3 separate regions of the Homo sapiens genome follow, and all the other regions are linked to region 2. The links are contacts of gene promoters, found by promoter capture Hi-C in human tissues and cell types (Jung and others, 2019). All regions are on one chromosome and are shown on one strand. The core of a region is centred on a gene start or on the middle of the fragment in contact, and the rest is flanking DNA. Distances in the headings are between cores, read along the strand shown.

The links. The method cuts DNA at HindIII sites, captures the fragments that hold promoters and counts their contacts. A contact is called where the count stands out against the background at its distance.
Region 1: a fragment that was not itself captured here is called in contact with the fragment with the promoter of SLC41A1 in region 2 in 4 of the 25 tissues and cell types used here (IMR-90 fibroblasts, aorta, fat and 1 more).
Region 3: a contact is called between a fragment that was not itself captured here and the fragment with the promoter of SLC41A1 in region 2, in 1 of the 25 tissues and cell types used here (aorta).

The regions. Positions count from the first base shown.
Region 1 is chr1:205,947,960-205,951,337 of GRCh38, forward strand. All of the region lies in intron 2 of SLC26A9-AS1 (SLC26A9 and RAB7B antisense RNA 1), which reads left to right. Among named protein-coding and RNA genes, the nearest start is that of SLC26A9, 6.2 kb to the left of the region's middle. The HindIII fragment of the contact is 4,219 bases long and covers 1-3,378 here.
Region 2 is chr1:205,811,794-205,815,132 of GRCh38, forward strand. It overlaps SLC41A1 (solute carrier family 41 member 1), which reads right to left and starts at 1,405. Exons shown (of 11, transcript NM_173854.6): 1 at 1,015-1,405. RefSeq lists silencers at 1,136-1,395, 1,536-1,765 and an enhancer at 1,199-1,699. The HindIII fragment of the contact is 10,091 bases long and covers 1-3,339 here.
Region 3 is chr1:205,597,098-205,600,455 of GRCh38, forward strand. SLC60A1 (solute carrier family 60 member 1) reads left to right here. Exons shown (of 10, transcript NM_181644.5): 8 at 683-753; 9 at 2,034-2,154; 10 at 3,309-3,358. Among named protein-coding and RNA genes, the nearest start is that of SLC60A1-AS1, 29 kb to the left of the region's middle. RefSeq lists an enhancer at 2,868-3,358. The HindIII fragment of the contact is 9,157 bases long and covers 1-3,358 here.

The DNA.
Region 1 (3,378 bases), core at 156-2,655, 140 kb after region 2:
CAAGAAGTCATGTGGGGACCTCCTCCCACTCCCCATTCGGTCATTACCCAGACACACCCTGGGCTCCGAGGTGGGCATATGCCAGCTGCCGCTGCAGAGGGACTGTTCTGCCCATCTGAACTCGGCACTCCTTTAGGAGTGGTTTAGGGTTGGGGTTGGGGGTGTGGGGGAAGCAGGTCTGCAGTGTCAGGGCTTGGGAGCCCAGGAGGATACAACTCCTAGGTGGGCGGGTCCTGCAGCTTCTAGAAAGAGGAAATGATTCTGCTCAGAACCAGAAATTGGCCTGGGTGAGGGTGTTCAGGGCAGTTCACACTGCCCTGGGAATGCTGAGACTGGGGCTAGAGCTAAGGAGGAGGTGAGTTCCAGGTGGTTAATGTTGACTGATGGGCCTCCTGGCTGCAATCCTGACACCGGGACCTTAAGCCAAGCACATATTAACCTGGGTGTAGGGGCTGCTTCTAAGCAGGGGATGTAGACCCCCAATTCAGGGAGAACTGAGAGAGCTGGAGAAGCATGGAATTGAGAATCTTGGGCACCAGGCCTCACCCTATCTCTAGGATCTGGCTTAGGCAGCGAGGGTATTATGGCAGAGGTGGTTTTTCTGACTGCAGTAAAGTCATAGGAAAATGATACCTTCCCATCTCCCTCTTCCTATTCCACATTCTCCAGGAAAGAGTCTGAGACTGGAAGGTGCCTAATACCCACCACCTGATCCAATCCACCTGACTCTTCCTCCCTGGTGACTCCTGACCACACAGACCTCTGTTTTCTGAGTGCCAACAGCTGTGCAGTCTGAACCACACTGCCGGCGGAAAGTGAGGTATTCTAGGTCTTCTAGGTTAGTTTTGTCTCCCAGTGGTTCCTTGAGGCCCGGGACTGTATCACAAGCACTTGTGAGACATCAGAATGTACTGGAAGAAAGAAAACTTTAGCCTCAGATCTTAGCTCTGGGGTTTGCTAGTCATGAGACCTGGGGCAAAGTATTAAACTCCCAGGCTCAATTTATTCATCTGTGAAGGGGGCTGAGTGGCAAAAAAGGAGGTGCGGTTGTAAGGTGAATTCCTTTCCTTCCGGCACAAAGACAGGGCCCAGGAATGACCACTAGTGGCATGGCCATCTGCTTATCTCCATCATCTCTCTGACAGTGCAGTGTAATCAGCCCTTCAGCCATACCCCAGCTAGGCGAGGCCCTTCTCAACTGCACAATGAATGGCCCTTGCTCCCTTGTCCCAGGGAGCCAGGAGTGCAGAGCTCCTGTTTGCAGGTCTTGCCTCACAATCTCCCAGAGATGCAGCCAAGTGGCAGAATGGGTTCCAGAAGGCTCCCCACCCAAGCTTCTCCAGCAGAGCAAAACCATGGTGGCAGTACCTGCACCTGAGCCCTGGAGCCCCAGCCCCCTCTGCCTTTTCTCCTTTTGGAAGGTGCCAAGTGGAAAGGGTGTGAGTGAATGTGTGTATGTGTGTCTGCAGTGTGAATTTTGAACAAGAGTGAGAATGCTTTTCTAAAAGAGAGGGGGACCTGTGTATGTAGTACACCTTTCCTCTTCCTCCCTCCTCACCTCCACATGCTCCCTGGTGACCAGTGGACCTTTGCCTAGCCGTGGATGCAGCTGAGCCCTCTCACCTTCTAGTTACCTGGAGCTTTCCTGCCTAAGGAATAAACCAGACTCTCTAGAGCCAGACCCACAGGTGTAGGCAGCTTTTGCAAGAACAGAGTCTTGTAGCAGGGGCTGCTCCAGTTCACATTGGAGGGAAGGGAGTGTGGAGGGGCATGTGTCTACCATGAGAGTTTGGGGGACAAGTCCAGAAATTTATCAGCACCCCTCTGCAAAGTAAACCTCCTATTGCTGTGGGGTTTTTTTACCTGCCAAGGTCAGGGTACTTAGTTCCCTGATTCTACCCTCCCCCTTTCCAGCAACCTTGCCAGAACTGATCACTGAGGGCTAAGGCGGAGCTGGTAGCAGGGTCAAGGATAGGCTTGCAGCCCTAGAGAAGGGGCATGTCCACCCTAGGAAGGAGACTGGAACCAAGCCAGGGCTTTAGTCTGGGACACACTCAGGTGCCCTGACCAGCCTAAACTCCACTCTCCAACTGGGATTGGAGTCAAGTGTGAACTGTGCATGGGATTCCCTGAGCAAAGTGGGCCCAGTGTGAGGGTAGAGGAGGAAAACAGGGACTGGCCTGCTGGGACCTCAGCTGGGGCCATTTCTCTGGGTCTCCCGGCACAGCAGGCAGGCCCTAGGTAGGTGTGACAAAGGCTGGCTGAGTGGCGCTGGGGTCCAACCCTCAAGAAGTACCTTCACCCCCAGAGTACAGGAAACAGGTCACCGAGTGAGTGGGTTCTTGGTCAGCTGGGGCTAATTCCTGTCAGCCCTCCAGGACTGTGCTCTGGCCTGGCCTGCTCAGAGGGCCGCATTGTTCCCTGGGAGCCTCTTGAGCATTTAGCTTGTCTTGTCCTGCTGGTACATTCATTGGCTGTGATTCCTGCTGAAGACATCTTCGGGGGCAGGCAGGACGCCAAGCTTGCGGGCAGGACTTGAGCTGTTCCACCGAGCAGGGAGCTCAGAGGCAGCAGGGACTCGCCAGCCTGGGATGTGACCATCTGGGGCTGTTTGCCAAGGGCAGGAGCAAGTTTGCCTGAGAAGTTCTGACACCCCCACTGGCCCTGGCAAGGAGACTGAGTGCAGGCTCTGTGTGCAACCGGAGTGTCCTGAGATTGGCTCTGTCCCCCCCAGAAACAAGCTGTGTGATTATGGGTGAGTTAATAAACTTCCCTGAGCTCTTGGCCTCCTCATCTGCAAGATGTGGGTACCAGCAGCACCTACCTCAGAGTGACTTTGGGAATATTAAACAAAGTAATGCATGAAAAGCACTTAGCTCAAGGTCTAACACTTCTCAGCCCCAGAGGGCCCAGCCCACTAACACTGCCCTTTCTCTATGCCCTCTCCCCATCCAGCTTGGATGGAATGCTCTCCCTTCTTGCCTCGGCTTCAGCACTTCAGCTAAAGCCACATCTCCCTGATGACTGCCGTGTGCTCTGGTTGTACCCACACTCCCACAGCACTCTCAGGTGGTAACTGCAGTTAGATACTTGACCACATGTTGTCAGGGATTTGGCTCTAATGGGAGGCTTCATTCCTGGAGCATAAGATTTGGGATGTTTGCTTGTTTTGTCTCCTTTGCGGACCAAAACATACTAAGCATTTTAACAAGAGTGCTTACCTGTTGACTGAACGTCCCATCCTGAGTCCTGCCCCTGGGCAATTAGAATAACCATAATTTATTGTGGTTGTAGTTATGCTCTTTGGAGATCCAAGGGTTCCAAAGATGTGCTTCAGTTGCAGCCACACCCCACCAGCTGGTGAGCTCATGTGATTGC
Region 2 (3,339 bases), core at 155-2,654:
CCTCTGTCTCTCCCCGTCTCCCCCTGCTCTTGGCCCTGTGAGCTTGTCAGATAGGACAAGGGAGTTATCTCAGTTAGAAGGGACAGAGCATAAAACGATTGCTTATTACCCACGCATTTCAGTTAATTAGGCTCCTCCTGTTCCCCAGGGTTACTGAGAGTTGGATATAGTGGAATTCTTAGAAACAAAAACAAAAAAACAAAAGTAGCAATAAAAAAAACCCAAAACAAAAACCAAAGCACCGTAAGCCAATATGCACTTGCTCCAAATGCATCTCTTTAGCTGTAATGGCTCCACTTCTCTGCCTAAAGGAATCCCCAGGCTTCCTAATTCCTGATGGACTCCCATCCTATTCCATTTCACCAGAAGAGCTCTTATTCGTAAAAAATAAATTTAAAGAGAGTTCCACCAGGTAAGAGGAACAGGTCCTTAAGTATTCCAAACACACACAATTAGTCAAGTTCAGTTTAGGAAAGGAGGTATCAAACCCCAGGAACTGGCCCAGGAGAACTGTTTCCTCTATCAATTCAGTCACCCACCAGGACTCCCTTTTCCAATCTCCTTAAACACAGTACTGTGGTTCTTTCAAACTCCCTCACCAGAGATCCAGGAGGAAACCTCTGAGTCCAGTGCCCCTATGCCAGAAAAGTTTCTGAGTCCGCTAAAAGCTGACACCCCCGCCTCCCTCCTGTGTTCCTGGCAGGCCACTGAACCTGAGAGGGGGCTCCCAGGAGGGGAAGCCAGTCCTCCCTCACCACTCCCCCTGTAAAGAGACTTCAGACAGGCCTAAGGCCCTGGGACGAAAGAAGCAAAAGTGAACCAGGACGCCCTATCCCCTCCTCCCAGGCGGGGACAAAAAAGACCCATTTTAGTATCCCCAACCCCGAGGAGGGAGAGAAAGTAACTGGGTGGCCTCCTCAGTCTCTCCACCACTCAGATTCAGCAAATGCGCTGCGCGCCAGGACTGCCGCCCTCCACCACCCCCTCCCCGCCCCAGGACCCCACAGGACTGACCTGCCCCTCGCCTGGGAGGAAGGGGGGCGCCTGGCAAGTGGCAGCGTGGCCCGTGGTCTCGGGGGGTGCAGGGCACCCCCTCTTCTCATCACTCCTCCTCGACAGTCCTCCTTGGCCCCCGGCGTGCCCCCCCACACCCCCAGCCAAGGCGAGCGTCCAGCCGCGACACCCGGCTCGCTACATTTCGCTTCTGCGTTACAGCGAGGCCGCCGCTCCGCTTCCACGCGGGGGAGGTGGCCGGGGAGGGCAGGATATATCGCTTCGGGCCCGGCGGGGGGGCACCCGGACGGGGGACCGGGGAGCCGAGCTCACGCGCCCCCAATCGCTTCTTGCCCGCGGACTCGGGCCCAACTGGTTGGCTGCCGGTGGCAAACGTGATCTGGGGCAGACTGGGTGGCACCCCCCCCGCTCCATCAAAAATAGATTCTCGGATGGACAACAGCAGCAGCCAATCAGGGACTGGGGAGGGGGCGGGATCAACCTCGGCCCGGCCCCCTTCCTTCGCTTCGTGCCCAGGAGGCGGGGCGCCGGGGAAACGCAGTAGGAGGAGTGACGGGAACCGGGAGCCGGCTCCATGCGCCTGGAGCGCGCGGGTCCCAGCGCCCATCGGCCCGGGGTCCGAGGGGCCCGCTGCCCGGGCTCGCTGCGTGGTGCTACCGCCCCCGGGCCCGCTGCGCCGCGTCGGAGCCCCAGCAGACTTTGAGAGGCGTGTGCGACAGTGCGCGTCCTCTCCTGCCTCTGGATGTTTCCTTGGAGCCTCTGGCCTTCGGGAAGACCGGTAAACGTCCCTGTGGAGCCAGCCAGCCAGCCACCTCTGACCCCCGGGCTCAAGCAGCCAGCCGCGTGCTCCCTCCTCCCACTTGGTACCCGGACAGAACAGTCCCTACCTTGCTCTTCTCCCGCCGGCTCGTCACTTTAGGCTCCCTCCAGATTCCGCGTTCCTTGAGCAAATGGCTCACCCCTGACGAATCCGGCCTTAAAAAAGTCCCGGCCTTGAAAGGGGTGGAGACTGGCGGGCGGGAGCGAAAGGAGGTCAGACCCATGGCTGGGGTCGCACACGCATCACCTGAGGTCGGAGAGGAGGGGAGCCTCACTTCCTCTGACCCACTGAGCCTGGTGGCAGCGTGCGGAGAGATGTCACCATCCCGGACTAAATGAAATCCAACTTTCCCTGACGCACCTTGTGGGATCAAAGAGGGGTGTTCCCATGCTCACCTTTCGCCACTTCCTCCCTGGGGTATCTCCACCTCTCCAACACAAGCTCAATGCCAGTTCTCTTTGGGATGTTTTTGTGCAGGGGGTGTGACCTCCCTCATAAAGGAACCCCCACTCCCAAGTTTTCCCCTCTTGTCAGTGGAACCTGTGACCAACGGTTCCTTCCTGTCCTTTTCCTCCCTGAAAGTAGCCCGGGGGCATTCGAACATGGCTCTAGACCCCTGAATAGGGTTTGGAGCGGAGATGTGCCTGGGGAGAAGAGATCGCAGTGCTGTGTATGAAGCTTTGGGCACGTGCTCACAAGAGCACACACAGCAACCTGAGCAGGTCATTCCTTTTGATAAGGATGACAAATACACATACCAAACCCTGTTCCCCTCACCCACCCCAAACCAGTACCCCCAGGATGATTCCAGATCAGCTCTGGAGCATTTGCATCAAGGGCCTGCAGACTCACAGGACCTACTAGAGCAAAATATCAGTGTCTCAGACCCCAGTTTTGGCCTCAAATACTGGGTTTTTCTGCCAGGAGAAGTAGCTGCTAGTCTAGGAAATGCTGGGACTTGTCCAGAAAGATGAGGTTTGTGAATACGGGGTGTGGGGTTGGGTGGGGAATTAAGGCTGATGTATCTGGAGGAACTTTGGTTGGGCTGGAGGCAACTTCTGCCCTGTTCTATTCAACAGTTCCCTCCCCTCCACTACCCCATTTAATCTGGCCACAGCTCAGCTACCTGTGTATAAAATCTTGATCTCTCTCCTATTTCCTTTCTACCTTCCGTGTTTTTACTTACTCGAAAACTGTTCCCCTCTCCTGTGTGTATTTTTTTAATTGAAATATACCAGGCATTTAGGAAAGGAACACGAAACCTAAGTGTACAGGTCAACAAATGATGACACAGTGAACACCCCCATATGACCACCATCCAGATCTAGAACGAGATCATTATTGGCATCCCAGATACCCTCCTTCTATCCGCTCCTGGTGACTATGCCACACTCCTTCTCAAAAGTAACGTTTATCTAACACTACAGGTTAGTTTTGCTTACTTCTGAACTTTATATACATGGAACCATTCAGTAGGTATTATTTTGTGTCTGGCTTCTCTCACT
Region 3 (3,358 bases), core at 484-2,983, 210 kb before region 2:
CTGCACCAGAGGGCTAGCCTCAGGATATCAGGAAATCTTTCTGGAAAGGTAGGTAGCAGTCAGAATGGGAATGGCGCTGAATGCCAGGGCTAAGCAAGATGGGATTTACCCTGAGATATTGATGAGCAATTAAAGGTTTCAGAACAAGGAAAGGACAAAATGACAGTAAGACCTAGGCATTCCCAAAGCAAAGTTACAGGCTCATGTCTGAGAAATCCAAAGTAGTCCTTTCTGCCAGGCCATCTTCCAGAGGTTTCCCAGAAGCAACCTAGGTTGTTTTTTTTTTTTTTTTTTTTTTTTTTTCGTTTTTTGACAGGGTCTCACTCTGTCACCCAGGCTGGAGTGCAGTGGTGCGATCATGGCTCACTGCAGCCTCCAATTCATGGGCTCGAGGGACCCTCCTACCTTAGCCTCCCAAGTAGCTGGGACTACAGGTGCACACCACCATGCCCAGTTAATTTTTTTAAATTTTACTTTTTGTAGAGACCAAGTCTTGTGATATTGCCCAGACTGGTCTTGAACTCCTGGCCTCAAGAGATCCTCCCACTTCTGACTCCTAAAGTACTGGGATGTGCCTTCCGAAATGCATATGCCACTGTGCCTGGCCAGCAACCTGGATTGTAATGCTGGCTTCTGTCTCCTTAACTTGCTTTTACCAAACCAAACCTTCTCTTTTTGTTAGGCTGTGCAACCACAGTGCTGGTGACAGGGGCAGGAGTTGGCGAGATGGTGCTGCAGATGCTGGTTGGTTCGGTATGTGGGGACCTGTAAGGGAGAGGGGAGCATTTGGGGAGCACTCCTCTGACAGGTGAGAAGATGCAGATAGCCACCTTCTGAACTCAAACTGTCCCTTTCCTGAGTCTCCAGCAAAGCCAGCAGGGCCCCCTGTGCCGTTGTTACCTGTTTCCGTTTCCAAGCCAGCCCTGAGAGCTGAGCCTCCATATGTGGGATCTGGAGATGTAAACGGATGCATGGAAAAGTCCAAAGCAAACACAAGCCATGTCTGGGAGCAGGGCCAGAGGGGGCCCGTGGGAATGCTGTTTAGCTCTCAGAGCCTGAGATGGGTTGGAACTGCAGTCAGAGTTCTTTTTCCATCCCTTCGGAACCCACCACTCCCTACCCCACCTCTCACAGCCTCTGGCCACCCTGCAGAGGGCCCAGCTTCCTGCTCAACTCCTGCCCTGACCGAGAGGGCCAACTCTTCCAGTTCTATTCAAATCCACCCATGTTTCATTTATTCACCAGGAAAAAAAAAAAAACAACCTAACATCTACTTTTTATTGAATACTATAATGTAGATATTATTCCCCTTTTTACAACAGAGGACACGGAAACTCAGATGAATTTAGCAACTTACCCTAGGTCAGTCACACTTCCAGAAACTGACAGAGAGGACCTCACATCTAGATCTTCCGGCCTCCAAAATCTCCCTCATTGTGACTCCATTCTCCTTTCCTCCTCTTTTGCCCTGCTGGAGGGAGGGGAAGAGCTGCATCTCACCATACCCTCCTCATTGAAATGATGTGACATCTGGGACTTGCTTTAGTGTAACCTAGTGCAGAAAAGAAGTGCAAGGCCACCAATGAAACCGGTGCTGACTGCTAAAGTTGAGTGTTGGGTTCATTGGAGCTCCATATACTACTTTAACATGTTTTAAATTCTCATAATAAAAGAGTAAAACAATATATCCTCTGCAAAGTTCTGGTTAGGGCTTATGGGTATAGAAACACCTAGTATGACTGGAGCTTCAGTGATGATAGAGATCGTCAGAAGGTTCCAGAACACAGAGCTGCAAGGGACTGCAGGGGGTCACCAGGTCCAGTCCCTGCCTTAGAGCAGGACTTCGGCCTTCTCCAGACACATCAACTTGAAACAAGGCCAAGGCCTCCCTCCTCCCCGTGATTCCATCTCTTGGTGTGACGGGCCTCAACTTAGCTGAAAAACCAGCCAAGGATGGAGAAGGCTGCTTCCTCCGATACACCTTCCACGTGAAGTTTTAATTGTCTGTCTCTCTGTGTTTTCCCCTTTGGCAGATATTCCAGGCTCAGGGCAGCTATAGTTTCCTGGTCTGTGGCGTGATCTTTGGTTGTCTGGCTTTTACCTTCTATATCTTGCTCCTGTTTTTCCACAGGATGCACCCTGGACTCCCATCAGGTAAGGAAAGTATCTGTTTCTACACAAGAGGAGGAAAACAGAGCCGGGGTCGGGGAGCGGGGGAGCAGGAGATGCTATGGATCTTAACGTGCCAGAAACGCTGCTCTGTTCCAAGTAAAATGCAAGGAAATGTTTATTTTTCTACAGCTTCCTTTTCCTCTCTTCCTGCTTTCCATACGATTGTCTGCGCTGGACTCTTAAGATAGGCGAGAGCTGGGTCGGCTGACTCATGGTTTCTCCATTAGCAGAGGGGTATGGATTGTGAACTTGGCTTCCTGCATCCCACCATGTCATGGGACCATGAGCCAAGAATCTCTTTCCAGCCTGTTCAGGGAACTGAAAGGCAGAGCCCGACTCCTTGGCTGGAACTCAGCCCAACGGCCTAATTGGCCATCTCTTTGCAGTTCAGGATTTTGATTCTAGTCCAAATCTTTTTTTCAAAAAGAAGTCCTTCAGGCCAAGTAGCAAAGAAAGTCTCCTTCAGGGCACAGACACCTCCTAAGAATAGTCTCCCTTCTAGAGACCCCAGGCAGGGGGAGTCCCAAAGCAATTTTCATAACCCTGAGCCCTTACCTGCCCTTTTGCCCACTGCTTTCAAAGTGCCCAGGGACTGCATCGGCTGTGTGCAAAGCCAGTTCTTAAGAGAAGGTGCCCAGGCGGAGACTCTGTCCTCCCTATAAAAAGCAAAATCATCACAAAAAGACTAAAGGAACAGGCATTCACCATCCGCTCTCAGTGGGTGAACATATCTACGCTCTAAACGCTCAGTACAAAGGCCCAGAAGGAAAGGTGGCCCCCAAAACAGCACTAACTATAGCCTCACTTCTGAGACAGCAGTACTGGTTGCACACACACAGGAGTTTCATTTAAGACCTACATTCAATTAATATTTGCTGAACATTAAATGAATAACACTTAATGGGCTCCTTATTCATGGGAGACAGACACATTCCCCAAGCCCTAGACAGCAGTCTCAGGAAACTGCCTCCACCAACTGTTCGCCAGAACTAGGGGGTCTGACTTTTCACTTTGCTCCCTCTAGAGCCACAGAATGGCAGAGAAACAAACAGCCTGGGTAAGCTCTCAGAATGAATCATCACTGCAACTCATCAGAGCTGCTGAAACATGCTACCTGTTTTGTTTTTCTTTTGTAGTTCCTACCCAAGACAGATCAATTGGAATGGAAAACTCTGAGTGCTACCAG